Linked DNA regions of Homo sapiens: regions 2 and 3 are each linked to region 1. Evidence: promoter capture Hi-C in 16 types of primary human blood cells and fetal thymus (Javierre and others, 2016). All regions are on one chromosome and are shown on one strand. The core of a region is centred on a gene start or on the middle of the fragment in contact, and the rest is flanking DNA. Distances in the headings are between cores, read along the strand shown.

The links. Contacts are between HindIII fragments. The CHiCAGO score rates a contact against its expected background, and 5 or more counts as called.
Region 2: a contact is called between a fragment that was not itself captured here and the fragment with the promoter of ELOVL5 in region 1, in 1 of 17 cell types (fetal thymus). The highest score is 5.1, in fetal thymus.
Region 3: a contact is called between a fragment that was not itself captured here and the fragment with the promoter of ELOVL5 in region 1, in 1 of 17 cell types (naive CD8 T cells). The highest score is 5.8, in naive CD8 T cells.

Annotation. Positions count from the first base shown.
Region 1 is chr6:53,345,948-53,350,792 of GRCh38, forward strand. It overlaps ELOVL5 (ELOVL fatty acid elongase 5), which reads right to left and starts at 3,003. Exons shown (of 8, transcript NM_021814.5): 1 at 2,870-3,003. RefSeq lists a silencer at 2,404-2,843. The HindIII fragment of the contact is 17,438 bases long and covers 1-4,845 here.
Region 2 is chr6:53,795,152-53,799,996 of GRCh38, forward strand. LRRC1 (leucine rich repeat containing 1) reads left to right here. Exons shown (of 14, transcript NM_018214.5): 1 at 1-264. The coding sequence starts at 106. Among named protein-coding and RNA genes, the nearest start is that of LRRC1, 2.6 kb to the left of the region's middle. RefSeq lists an enhancer at 1-638. The HindIII fragment of the contact is 950 bases long and covers 1,170-2,119 here.
Region 3 is chr6:52,980,418-52,985,262 of GRCh38, forward strand. It overlaps GSTA4 (glutathione S-transferase alpha 4), which reads right to left. Exons shown (of 7, transcript NM_001512.4): 5 at 4,047-4,188; 6 at 2,157-2,288. Among named protein-coding and RNA genes, the nearest start is that of GSTA4, 12 kb to the right of the region's middle. The HindIII fragment of the contact is 577 bases long and covers 2,264-2,840 here.

The sequences.
Region 1 (4,845 bases), core at 1,753-4,252:
GTTTGTTACATAGGTATACATGTGCCATGCTGGTTTCCTGCACCTATCAACCCATCATCTAGGTTTTAAGCCCTGCGTGCATTAGGAATTTGTCCTAATGCTCTCCCTCCCCTTGCCCCCCACCACCCGATAGGCCCGGGTGTGTGATGTTTCCCTCCCTGTGTCCATGTGTTCTCACTGTTCGACTCCCACTTATGAGTGAGAATATGCAGTGTTTGGTTTTCTGTTCCTGTGTTAGTCTGCTGAGGATGATGGTTTCCAGCTTCATCCATGTCCCTGCAAAAGACACGAACTCATCTTTTTTATGGCTGCATAGTATTCCATGGTGTATATGTGCCACATTTTCTTTATCCAGTCTATCATTGATGGGCATTTGAGTTGGTTCCAAGTCTTTGCTATTGTAAATGGTGCTGCAATAAACATACGTGTGCATGTGTCTTCATAGTGCTCCTCAATTCTTAAAAAACAACTGGGGGATAAAACCTCACAGAGGTGTTATAAGAATTACGTGTGGAAAGCAACCGTTTATGTACATGTGCGTATTAATAAGTACCTGACACAGAAAGCATTCAAGGAAAGACTTATTTACAGGTAACTAATGAGAGGATTAGCCTTTTGATAACAGAAGAGCTGGTAGGCAAAGAGGAGGAATTAAAAAAAAAAATTACAAAATCTTTTAGGAGAGAAGAATGTAGCCAGGAAAGCAAGAGGTAAAACTCTCTCTTCACACTAACTACCCACCTAGGCACCAAAGTTACCCTCAAGAAAAGTAAACAGTTTTGCTTTGATTTGTGTAATTCAAGCTGGAAATAAGACACCCAAGGATGGATGCTCACCTCTAGAAGCAGGAAGACAAGCAACCATTATGCAGGGAGCAAAAGAAGAGGTAGTGGAAAAAAAGATTCTTGCAAACAGAACATCCAAAAATTAAGGTCTGTAACCAAGAAGAAGCTGTTGATTTCAGGGAATGGGAAGGAAACATTTTCAAACCACCATTTGGCAGACTCAATGCTGGGCTCTCATTTGCATTATCTCTTGAAATCCACAATGATCCTGCCACATAAAATCCCCATGTATAGACAAGGAAATTGAGTCAAGGAGGTGAGGTCAATATCTGAAGTTACAAGATATTTTTCTTGAAAAACATCAAATTTTAGTAAGCCTTCTACTGTCGCTTTTCAGCAAAGTTCTGTACTACATTCTGTAACATTACCTATCTGTAACTATCAATAAAAATTTCCCCTTTGTCTTCAATTAGAAATAGAAACGAAAATGCAAAAAGAGAAACAGTACAGAAAAAGTTCCTGGCAATAAGAAGTTAGAATCTAGGGTAAAAATCTAAAAGGAAAATGAGTAACATTTCCCTTTCAAGTGCAGAGCTTTCCTGGAGAATCCCAGGCAGTGTCTGAGCTACCAGAAAAGTAACCCACTTGTCCCCAATCACAGATGGAAGGCTAAAATGTTTGTCCACGGCCATCTAATGCAAAACCGCCTGTTTCTATCTGTAGATTCTGCACGAAATGCTTTTGGCTGAGACGTGCAAGCAAAACAAGTGCAGACCAACAGGTTATCTGCCAAGCGGTTAGGAGAATGAGTTACAAAACCTGACAAGCAACATCAGCTCTTCCGTACAATTCTATGAAGCACTTCCTGCCACGGGTCCCGCTATTTAAAACAAATTAGGCTGCTCGCTCCCCACAAATCCCATCTAGCACCTCTCGGTTCCTCAGTCTAGCTAATAAACCATGCACTGGATTCTTCCGAAAGAGACCCCCCGCCCCCGACCCCGCCACCTCCGCCACTTTGCATAACTGGCCAAATGCATTCTCCAAATTTGCAATCAAGGAGCTTAATTCACAATTGTGGATGGGGCGGGGGGAACCGCCAAGTGCAAGAACACGGAACGGTTGCAAGACGCAGTTCAGCAAGAACAACTCTTGCTCTAGGCATTGCTCCGTCGACCCGAGGTGGTGGGGTGGGAGAGTCTTACCGGCGTGGAAACAGTAAAAAGGCACTTTTCCTTACAACTCGCAAGACAACACACACTCTAGCTCCCCCGGCGCAGAGCACAACCGCCCCCCCGCCGCGCGCCTCCCTCGCAGCCAACCGCTCCCGCCTCTCCAGGGATCAGGCTCCCAGAAAGGGCCGCCCCGGTCGCCCCCGAGTCCCCGCCCTCTCGCTTTCCCACCAGCCTCATCCCTCCCTGAGTACCAAGGGCTGCCGTTGTCTGGTTTCAATAAAAACTGAAGCGGTCCCGAGCTAGCAGGCTTCCCTCCGAGGGGCGGACGGAAGGTCCGCAGGGTTAACGGAAGCGGAGAGAACAGGACAAAAAGGAAAGGCCGGAGAGTCCCCCCAGCGGCGCCCGGTGCCCGCAGACCCTCGCACAGGCTCTTCGAACTCACCCGGGTTTCGCCGACTCCAAAGAAAGCGCGCTCCCTCCGAGAGCGCTCCCCCGGCTCTCCCGCCGCGCGCTCCGGCCCGCAGGGCGGGAGGACCCAGGCGGACAGATCCATCCCTCCGCGTCTGGTGTGGGCACGGTGTCGTGCCCCGCGGCGCCTGTCAGCGCGCACAGGTGGGACCGCAGCACAGAGAACGCTCCCGAGCGCCCTGCCTCAGCCTCGGCGTGGGGCGAGCCGCCCGCGCCCGCACCCGCACCCCTTTCCCCGCGCCCGAGGAGCCGGGCTGTACCCCGGAGCCGGCGGAGCTGGAGGCCGCGGGCGGAGCGCGGGTTGCCCCGGCAGCTCTTTCTCGGCACCAGGTCCGAGACCTAACGGCAGTTCTCTCTGACCGCTTCCCGGCCGCGCGCTCGCGCGGGTGTCATGGCCGAGCGGCGGCCCCCGACGAAGTTTCCCGGAGCTGACGGCTTTACCTTTTAGCCCAAGGGGCGGCAGCAGCTTTGAGCAGCAGCAAGGCGGCGGCGGCGGAGGGAGCGCGGGTGGCAGCCGGCGCAGAGGCGGATGTAGAAGGAGACACCGGTGGCTAGGACCCGCGCGATGGGAAGAGGAAGGCGCCGGCTATCTACAATCAGAACGTGGGCTGACCGTGACGTCACAATGGCGCGGCCAGCCAATCGGGACCCGAAGGATGAATCAAGCGCTATGATGTCATGCGGCCCGGGAGCCAATCGCGGGACAATAGAACTTTCGTGATCGTAAATTCCAGAATCCGATGCGGTGGAGAGCCTAGGCCGGGGTTGGCCCCTCGGTTCCACGTGTCTCTGGGAAATTTTTTTCCCCTTTCTTCCTAATAAGCCTGCGTGGAACGCAGAGCCTGCGCAATAGCCCCGGTGAAGTTGTCGATGCCCTGAACTCTGGTTTTTTTACTGCCAGGCGTGGCAGGAGTCTGTGGCCGCATTTGGGTGGCAGAAGCCCACCCTCGTTACGGTCTCCTCTATGAGTTATGTCATGCTGAAGGGGATCCACTTCATCGTTAAAGCTGAAAGGGTTAAATGCCCACGGAGACCGCCGGAGTGAAGGTCTGCAGTTGAACAAGATAAAGGAACAAGAACAAAACGACTCAAAACTGTTGTAACCATAACTCCCTTGCAAAGGATTTACCGTGTATTTTTCTTAGGGATTCTGATTTTTCTTTGGAAGCCACTATCAACTCCATTTCTACTCTAGAAATTATTCTAAAGGATTGTTAAATGAGGAAAGATGGAATCAGTGTCTTTTCAGCTAAGCATATTTAAGCACTTAAGACAAAGGGGGTTCAGGGCATAAACGGAAGATCCTTGCTGTTTTTCACTGATATTTGGATAATTAAAGACCTTCATTAGCTTTGTATCCTACTGTTTCCCCATTCAAACCCCAGAGATTTAGCCTTTCTTCGTGTGCCCCTCTTGCTGTATTCTTACTCCTCTATGTGCATCCACCTAACAGTCGGCTATTTAATGTAGGCAAATTTATTCTTTTTTTTCTTTTTTTTTCTTTTTTGAGACAGAGTCTCGCTCTGTTGCCCAGGCTGGAGTGCAGTGGCGCGATCTCAGCTCACTGCAACCTCCACCTTCCGGGTTCAAGCGATTCTCCTGCCTCAGCCTCCCAAGTAGCTGGAATTACAGGCACGCGCCACCACACCCGACTAATTTTTGTATTTTTAGTAGAGATGAGGTTTCGCCATGTTGGCCAGGCTGGTCTCGAACTCCTGACCTCAGGTAATCCGCTCGCCTCAGCTTGCCAAAGTGCTGGGATTACAGACGTGAGTCACCGAGCCTGGCCGGCAAATTTATTCTTTTACATATTTACAATGTAATGCTTATCACGTGCCAGCTGTGTTCCAGGCAGTGGGCCATTGCAATAGGAATGCAAGTATACAAACCATGTACAAATTAAGTAAATTAAACATATACAAAGAATCGAGATTGTCAGTTGCCATTGAGCTCCACAAACACTGAATGACTTCAATTTGCTAGATACTATGTTAGGTATTCAAAATTTGAAACCTTCAAGGACTTCTTGGGCCTGGAAAATGATACAGTCAGGAAGCAACTACAATGCAGAGTGGTAAATGCTGCTATGGACATCAAGGGACATGAGAAAAGCATATGCTGGTGGCATAGACTATTTTTTTGAGATATCTCCTTCATTCTTCACGCTTCTGCCAGTAGTCCAAGGCCAGGGTTCATCTCTGTCATCCCATCTAAGTTTTGCCTTTCCAGGTTTTAAAAGTTTCTAATTTAACTTGAGATTCCAAAAGTCTTAAGTTTTACGCCGCACTTGTTTGAATTGTGCTTACCTATCAATAAAATGTTTTAAGCCCATTTGACCAAAATATCTTTAAGTTCAGGCTTATATAACTGTCAAGCTATGCATTAAATATCAAGTGATTTTTCTTATTGTATGATTA
Region 2 (4,845 bases), core at 395-2,894, 450 kb after region 1:
CGAGCGCGGAGAGGGCAGCGGACTGAGCGGAGCCGCCGGCCAGAGCGGGCTCGGAGCCCGGGTCTCCGCCGCTCGGGACCCGGCTAGGCGGCGGCGGGGGCGGCGATGTTCCACTGCATCCCCCTGTGGCGGTGCAACCGTCATGTGGAGAGCATCGACAAGCGCCACTGCTCGCTGGTCTACGTCCCCGAGGAGATCTACCGCTATGCCCGGAGCCTGGAGGAGCTGCTGCTGGACGCCAACCAGCTCCGCGAGCTGCCCGAGGTAAGGGTCCGGCCTCACCTGAGCGCTCTGCCCGCTCGTCTGCTGTCCCTTCCGCTCCCATCCTCTCTCGTCCCCTCTTCCATCTCCGGGTCCGGCGTGAAGGAACCTTCCCTCTTTTATGCATTCACCTGCTTCTTTCTCCCCCTGTCTCTTTACTTCCATCCTTTCCCAGTAAAAGTTCCTTTTCATTTTATTCAAAGTGACCGGATATTTTGCGCGTAGTCACTGGGGCTCGTGCTATTGGAGAAGCGTTCTGGACTGTTAAGTAACTTAGATCCATGCTAGGTACTGACACCTGGCACTTGTGCCCGGTCAGGTGAGAAGCCGGGTGATTCGGGCTGTTTCCATCTGGAAGCTACAGAGCACTGCATCCTCCCCCCCTCCACTCCCCGGGGTCGTTCCCCCACCAAGGGCCGGGCGCGCCTCTCCTTTAGTCAAGGCATGTCCCGGAGGACCTTGTGACCTGGGCAGCGCTCAAGCGGGCCGCACTATCTCGGCATCTTGGGAGGAATGAGGAATGTGCTCCGTGCTTTATCGCGGGTGGGCTTGGCCGGCTGGCCTGCGGTGGCTGCGGGGGTGGACGCGAGATGGGCGCAGGGGAGAGCTGGGCCTGGAGCGCTAGGGGCAGGTGCCCAGATGCCGGCCGCCCGGGCCTTGCCTACGTGGACCTGTTGCGTGGTGGGAGCTGCGGTGAACGTCAGCGGAGGCTCTGCCCGCGGGCCAGCCTTGCAGCCGCCTTTCCCGGAGCGGGCACAGTCGTCCTGCTGACTTTCTCTCCTTGCAGTGATGCGTTATCTCTTCAGAGTTGTTTATGTAAATTGATCACTCCATTGCCGCCGAACTTGTCAAGCGACATGTGCTGATGGTGCTTTGACCGAGAGTAGGGGTACAGCGAACTTCTTTCAAGCTTGCCTCGGGAACTTAGCTAGAGTAACCCCTCGGGGAAGGTGTCTCAAACCCAGGTGTGTGCAGGAAGTCGGTGTGCAATAATCCAAAGGTGTGCAGGAAGTAGGGAGACTGCTGGCAGTCGGGGATTGGACCTGTTTTAGGCCTGAGCTTTGGAACGCAAACTTCTTGTTGCCCTTTAGTTAACACAAGCCAAATCATTGTCACAGAAACACTAGTCAAGTGTTCTGACTTGTTAGAATGACCTGATACGTTCTCCAGCGCTGATGGAGCATTTAAACAATAAGAACTGTGTGTTTTTCTCAATATTTTAAGTGGTGGTGTTCTTCTTGGATTAACTTTCCTGGGTTCATGTGGAATTGATTGGATGTTTGCTCTGTGTAATCATGGAGATTATCCTCACTAGGACCTTTGCAAAGCCCCCCAGGCTTTATTTAGCTTAGAAGCAGCAAAGCCATCAAGTTCCCTCAGGCGTTTATTATTTCGCAGGCATTTTCAAACACATGATTTTTTTCTGGCCTTTTACGTCCTTGAAGATTTCTTACCAGTCGTCAGCTCCCTCACTGCTTTAAGTTGTGTAATTTTAGGCAGTGATATCACCAGGAATATAGAATATGTAATTTAATAGTTTTCAGGGGCTTCAGGATGACATTATTGAAGATGGAGTGAAAAGTTATTCACTAGAAATGATTCATTGCTCTTTGTGGTATTTGTTTTTTTGTTTTCTTTTGTAGAACTGGAAGATTTCCTTTGACTGGATTGGCTTTTCACTCCCTTCTGCAGGGTTTGTGGGTTTTCCTGTAATGTTGGGGAATTCAGCTTGGCATGGGAAATTACATAATTTCCCATGCCAAGCCGAAATGTCAGGTCTTTCTGTGATCCTAAATGGAAACTTGTCAGAATCTCAAAATATAGTCTGATGGCACTCTGTAAATATGGTAAATAAACAAGCTTTTCAAAGGTTACAGGTGATCTTGCTAATGGATTATTATTGCTCTAACAGCTGTTAAATTAGTATTAAAGTTTTTAGGTTGTGTAAAATCTACTTCTCCCTGACTTATTGTGTGTCTTGGTGCCTGGGTGTGTACATGCCAGACATGAGAACCACCTTGCAAACATAGATATCTGTTCCATCCCTTCCATTCTTTCCTTGGGCTATCTGTTGTCTCACCTCTGAGATCTGTATAACTTATTACCACTGGTCTCTGCTGCTCCTGCTCCAAACCCCTGTCTCCTTACCTGCCACACACAAGCGCATCTGTTTTGTTCACAAGCCTCAAAGGTCCTTATTTTGGTGGCCATACCAGCTGTATGTTCTCCTCTCTATAATTTGTTTGGAAGCACAGCTTAAGGGGAAGCCGGTACCCCTTACCAGGGCAGCAAAGATGCACTCTCCAGGTTTCAGTGTAATAACAGCCACCTTCTTTCCACTGAAAGGCCTGCAACTTCTGGTTTGCGCCAATATCTTCCTTTTACAAATTCAGATTCAGAATTGAGGTGACTTTCTCAGGGCTGTCCAGTGAGTTAGATGCAGTTGCTGGTGGGTCTTGTTCATTCAGATGTCAGCCAAATACAATTGCTTTGGACACCTAGCAGGAATCTTCTATCCTGCTTCTCACACCCATCAAATCTTTATTTAGTCTCTCCTGTTTTACTCATGTCATTATAACTTAGCCTTAGCCAAGCATTTATTGAGACTCCATTATTTACAAGTTATTGGGAATATAGAGATTAAAGGAGGCATGATTCACATCTTTGGGAGGAAGCAGATGATTTTAATCCAGATGTAGTTAGTGTGGGATGGAAAGGACACCACGGTTAAACTACTCCTAAGCTATGGACTTGATGGTTACTTCCCTAATCTTTTAACCTTTTGCATCAGATCCCTCATCTTCAGTTTGGTTGCAGTTGGGTGATAGCCTCACCATCCTTTTTGCATCCACCTACTTCTCCCCCATACCCGCAGTTTGATCCTTTTTGGCTCTGTGCTAACAAAGGCAGTCTCACTGTAACCTTCTTGAGATGTCTGTGTGTTTTTGCTTACCTTTGTTTATTTTTTATTTATTTATTTTTTGAGACGGAGTCTCACTCTTGTTGCCTAGGCTGGAGTGCAGTGGCACGATCTCCACTCACTGCAAGCTCCTCCTTCTGGGTTCACACCATTCTCCTGCCTCAGCCTCTCGAGTAGCTGGGACTACAGGTGCCCACCACCACACCCAGCTAATTTTTTAGTATTTTTAGTAGAGACAGGGTTTCACCATGTTAGCCAGGATGGTCTCGATCTCCTGACCTCATGACCCACCCGCCTTAGCCTCCCAAAGTGCTGGGATTACAGGCGTGAGCCACCATGCCCGGCCTTACCTTTGTTCAGCACAGAATCTCATCCTTGTGACACCCAATAGGTCTTGCTCAATAAACAGTTATTTATCTGTTGAATGAATGTTGCCGAATCTTATAAAAATCTTCCTCCCTCTGCTTCTTTCTTTTCCCTTAAGCATATCACTGCTCCAGCATCTATCCTTTTCTAATATAGTCAGAATATTCAAGTTGGAAGCAACTTCAGAAGAAAAGGTCATTCATAGGGTGACACTGTTTTGTCCTACTTGCCCTGCAGGAACCTTGGCTTCCCCTCTGTACTTCCTCAGCCTTTCACATGCCATTGGTTTTCTCCTCAGTGTGCACCAGTTCTCAGATACCTTCAAATGCGTGTGTTTTCCTGTAATCTCCAGCACCAATATAGCGCTTCATGTAGTAGTAGGCAGCACATATTTTAAATGAATATACTAAAGGCTTCATAGCTTTAAAAATTTGAATTTCACCTTGCCACCTCCTCTTAAGAGTTCAGTTGATTTTTGTTGATTGCCAGATGGCATTATCTCAAATGCCTGCCCCCTACATCATTCTTTCTCATATTCTGCTTTATTTTTTCCTGTCCTTTAGAGCATATATCATTACCTAACTCCAGACCATATATTTGCTTTCTTGTTCTTTGTCTCTCTCCCTAACTAAAACATAACCTCCATGAGTGCAGAGGTCTTCACGGCTGGACCTAGGACAGTATTTAGTACATAGTGGGCACAAAGATGTGTCAGTGAGTCCTAACATGGGTAGATGGGCCCTGTTTCTTAGCCGTCATAATTCCCCTTCCTATGGTCAGACTTTTGTACACCAATCTGGTGAAGCTATTGTTGACACAAAGTCTTCTTTCAGAATCCGGTGTCCTTGTCTTGCCAGTTTTTGTTTTCCATCTCTTCTGTGCTGGACACCTTTGATTGCCTTATCTTTGAAAGAATCTTCATGCATTGTAAACATATTTTCTATGAACATGACTTAAAGTTTAATATATCCAGCTGTGATCTGTTAAGGGAATATCCATCTCCACTTGTGGTAAGTCCCTTTTGCCTTAAACCAACCATGTTTTAATTTAGGTTTCATATTGCAAACTGACTGCTTTTCCCAGAAGTTCTGTTTCTAGGGGGCAGGGCAGCTATTCTTTCCATCTCAAAGGTCCAAGGACTTACCTCTGATCCTTCCTTCTTCTCTCCATTTTGTTGCCAAGTCCTGCCATTTCTGTTTTCACAATGCCACCTATTCTCTCTCAGTCCCTCACTCCCATCTGGTAGGCTTCATCTGGATTTATGTTGTGCGTTGCTGGTTGTCTTCTGCTGAGGCTCT
Region 3 (4,845 bases), core at 1,302-3,801, 370 kb before region 1:
CCTCAGCCTCCGAGTAGCTGGGATTACAGGCACATGCCACCATGCTCAGCTAATTGTTTTATTTTTAGTAGAGATGGGGTTTCACCATGTTGGCCAGACTGGTCTTGAACTCCTGACCTTAAGTGATCCACCCACTTCAGCCACCCAAAGTGCTGGGATTACAGGTGTGAGCCACTGCGCCCGGCCTAGATTTCACCTTTAATAAGCTTAGCATTCTACCTACTTCTGGGTTCAGCATCCCACCTATTTGGGGCCAAAGGTACTTCTAGTACTTCTAAATGTGTTTCTCAGAAACCACACAGTCTAGTGGAAAGAGTACAGACTTAGATCCCTGACTCCCCTGTGGCTCCCAACTCAGTCATCCACAGTCTTGCAACTATGCAGAATGTAATGTTTCCAAGCTGGTAATTTTCATCTGTAAAATGGAGATAGTGAAGCCCATCTCCTAGGGTTATTGGGGTGGGGTTGACGGGACAGATGAGCAAATGCATGTAAGTGCCTAGCAGACTGACTGGAATGAAGCTGGCACTCAACAAGTTGCAGATCCCTTCCTCTAATTTCCCTTCTCTGCTAAACAAGTAACTTTTTTAACAGTGCAAAAGAATACTTCAGGTGAAAAGTATCCTAAGTTCTGAATGAATAAAATCAAATTAAGGAAAGTCAATCTCTGTGTCTGCAAAAGTAAATGAAAAAAAAATTGAAAAAAAAATATAAACTATAACATAAATGATATGGTGGTTTATTGCCTTGTTGAAGATTTTTATTCTCATTTTCTGGGTGTACTTATTGAACTGGTGGTAATTGCTCTCATTAGTATATCAAAATATTTAATAGACTTGGCAAAAAATTGTTTTAAGTATGTGTGTTACTCTTTGGAGAGTTAGTGTATCTCTCTTGGCTTTTGATAACTTGGTCAAACATATAGCAATTTGGTCTGTATCCAGGCTGTTTCAGGGATTGGCAAGCTTTTTCCATAAAGGACCAGTCAGCAAATATTTTAAGTTCTGCAGGCCATATGGTCTCTATCAGATCTACTCAACTCTGCTGTAGAAAAACAAAAGTAACCTTGACATTGTGTAAATGAGTGGGCATGGCTTTGTACCAATGAAATTTATGAATACTAGAATTTGAATTTCATATAATTTTTATGTGTCATGAAATATTATTCCACAGATTTTTTTCAACCATTTAAAAATGTAAAAATTATTCTTAACTCACAAGCTGTATAAAAACAGGTGGCAGGCCAGGTTTGGCCCAGGAGTTACAGTCTGCACATTAGACTTGGAGATAAAAGGCTAAGGTTCTAGATAAAACTCAAGCATCCACTGCCTAAGCCAGCTTGGCTGCTGATTTCTTTATTCTGGGTCTCTACTTCCTCAAGTGAATATTGAAGTCATTAAATGAGTTTTTTTTTAAAGGCCCTTCTCTCCTTTAAAGTTCTATGATCAATCCTGCCAGAATAACCCTGAGGGATAATTTGAACCACACAAGTCTTTCCTTGGAATTCTCAGAAGGAGAATGGTAGGAATCCTTTGGGGTGATGTTTAGGGTGCTAACATCTCTCATTTGCTCTCAGAGCTCAGGCTTAGAATTTCCTAACTTGAGACCATACTATTTCTGAGAAAGGGAGTCATAGCCTGATGAATGAGACTGTTTTGATGTTTATCTCGCCCACTATTCCATCAGTAGATACATGTGAGTGTGAGACCACCTCATCTCTATGGTTATTTCTATGGAAAGTCCCCTGAGGCAAACTCCCTGTGCATGGAGTTTTTTCCAGGAGTGCAGTTATGGAACAAAATTAAGATGAAAATTTCTGAGCTGGGTGTGCTGGCACATGCCTATAGTCCCTGCTACTCAGGAGACTGAGGTGGGAGGATCTCTTGAGCCCAGGAGTTCAAGACCATTCTGGGCAACATAGTAAGATCCCACCTTAAAAAAAAAAAATTTTACACTTCAATGATCTTTCAACTTGAAGGATTTAAGGACCAGAAAAATAACTTTGGGTCCTTACTTTCATTTCATTTGCCAAACTAGAATCTTAAAAATATTACACATACACACACACACACACTCCCCAAAGCCAACCAAACAATAGACACTGAAGGAAGGCCCAAGAGTTCTAGGCCAATCTTCTAATACATAGTTTTATTTACCTGGAGGAAAGGAAATGCAGACAGGATATTAGGAATTTTCTCTTCTAGAGCTAAAATGGTTTGGAGTAAAATCACATCTGCAAGGCTCAGCTGATTACCAACAAGAAAGCTTTGTCCGTGACCCCTTAAAATCTGTAGGGAAATGGTGTGCATCAGTTACAATATTCCACATGGAGAGAGTGATGAGGCTATTGAATCAGTGCAGTATCTGAGAAGAGGTGAAACTATGACCTTGTCATTTCATGCTTTCATAAATAACATCAATTAAGAGAACGCACCCTATATCTGACAGAGAGAGTGAGAGAGAGGGGGAGAGAGAGAGAGAGAGAGCGAGAGAGAGAGAGAGAAAGTACAAAAAAGGTGTGGAAATGAAAGCATCCTTAAATATCTGCTGTGGATCTGAATGAGACATTGAAGTGGGGAAGGGAAAATTCCTTATTTCTGGATTTAGCATCTGGTGTTTTGAAAGGATATATCTACTCCAAAAATGTATCTACAGAAATGCATGCAGGAGGCTTGGGGAGGGGCAGGGTGATTTAAGAAATCTAAGTGATAGATCATCTTCAAGGGGCCCACTCTTATTTCCCAGTTCTGCTGCTAGAACATCAAGAGGTGTAGTCATAAACTCAACCCAATTATAAAATTAGACTTCCTCTTACATGTCCCAAAACAGAGAAAATGAAAAGCTTGAGTTCATCTTGACTCCCATTCTGAGGGTAACGTATAGGTGTGGGGCTTATAAGAATAGATTGTGATTAGGGAGAGGCAAGAAGCAGTAGTAGCAAAGGGGAGATCCCCTTCACAGTCAACTCTTGGATGCCCATGGGTGTCTGCATGTGCACAAGTGTGTGTGTCACAGGGACTCCGAACACAATTCCAGGTCAAATATAGCTACTGGAGCCAGAGTGGCATAGTACAATGCATCCTGAATTTGTAGTCAGAGGCCAGAGTTCCAACCCTGCTCTCCATTTTCTGGCCATGTTACCTTGGACAGGTCACTGAATCTCTTCATGACTTCATTTCATTATGTGTAAAAGGGACAACGGTTCTCACCTCATAGGCGTGTTGCAAGAAACCCTGACACAGTCTGGGCCCTTGGGACCTAAGAATGAGCAGTGAACCTTTGCCAAAGCACCAGGTCCTCTGTGCCCGTTCCAGACCACATTTCTTCATTATCCTATTTTACATTCACAAAGTGCCTGTGGGAAAGATACCATAAAACCTAGCTACAGAAACCCCAGAAAATACCTCTCCTTTTTCCTAAATCTAGTTCCATAAAGATGGTCAGAGGAAGCTTGCCAAATAGGTCTTCCCATATTTTCACACCCTCTTCTTTAGTGTTTGCATTGAAACACTAAAAAAGTTCCTCCCAGTTCAGGAATAAAGAATTTGAAGCTCAGAAAAGCAGATATAACAAGAAGAGAAAAACAACAAAACCAAAAACAAAAAGAGCAAAGGGAAGATAAATAAAATGGAAATGGTTCTTCTACTCATATCGAATTATCAGGGAGGATGTCAGCTGAGACAGCTGTTCGACAACTTTTGTTGAATGAATGAATGAGGTAGTTTTTGTTTTCTGTATCTTCTGAAGTTTCTGCTGTATCCACACAAGGTGGGAACTTGGTGAATGCAAGGAACAATAAGGAACAAAGGCAGGGAGCCCATACTTTTTCTAGACTTCTGAATCATGTGGTCCTAGCAGAGTCCAAGGGGCTCTAAGACACCAGCTTTGTGCTGTGGCTACTATTCGCTCTTAGGAGTCCATTAGCGCTTAGGTTAGTTCAACTGGGCTCAGTTTTAAAATCCTTGGACAGAAAAGGGTGTTTGTGGCAGCTTCTTTGTGGTTTGTGGTTTGGTTGCTCTGTGTATGTAGGCATCTCTGCCACCTACCTTTTCAAACACAGGAAAGTATCTAATTATAGCCTTCTGGGCCATGTTAACCACTTCCTTTTGCTGATCATCTGGTTTTAAGAAAGGATGCATGATAAGCAGTTCCAGCAGATCCAGTGTCCCCTCCACGTACATGTCAATCCTTAAAACAAAAAAGCAGTTGTCTCAGTTTCTCCTCTCTTTGAAGCCATCAGTTTCCACAACTAAGAATTCAGAGTGCTTTTTTTTTTTTTTTTAAAGATGCTGCAACTTAAGTCCCTAGAAGCATTTACCTATACCTGTCTCTTAAGAGCAAAGATATAAGGTCAATTCTAGTTGTAACTCAGAAAAATCTGTCACAGATCAGACAGCTTGACAGTCATGAGTGCTCTCTCTCCTGGCATCCTACTCCTCCACTTTTACCCCAGCATCCATGTTTTGGTCTCTTCGTATGGGTCAAACTTCAACTTTATAAAAATAGTGAATACCACTTATTGAGTGCTTAGAGTGTACCAGGCATGGTGCTAAACACTCTCTATCCATTATCTCATTAAATCACATGACACTATGAGAAATGTACTATTCTTATACCCACGTTGCCCAGGGTCATACATCTAAGGGGTGCAAGGACCAGGCTTTGATTTCAAATTATAATCTAATGCTCACTCTCCCAGGCCTTGAATGTCACAGCAGCTCCTCATTCCTAATACTTAACAATAGTGAATGTGCAAGAAAGGGAAAAAGCAGTATCAAAGCATTTAAAAATGTTGAAATCTGAAACAATGACACCCTAGATATAATATTCAATATCTGAATCCTA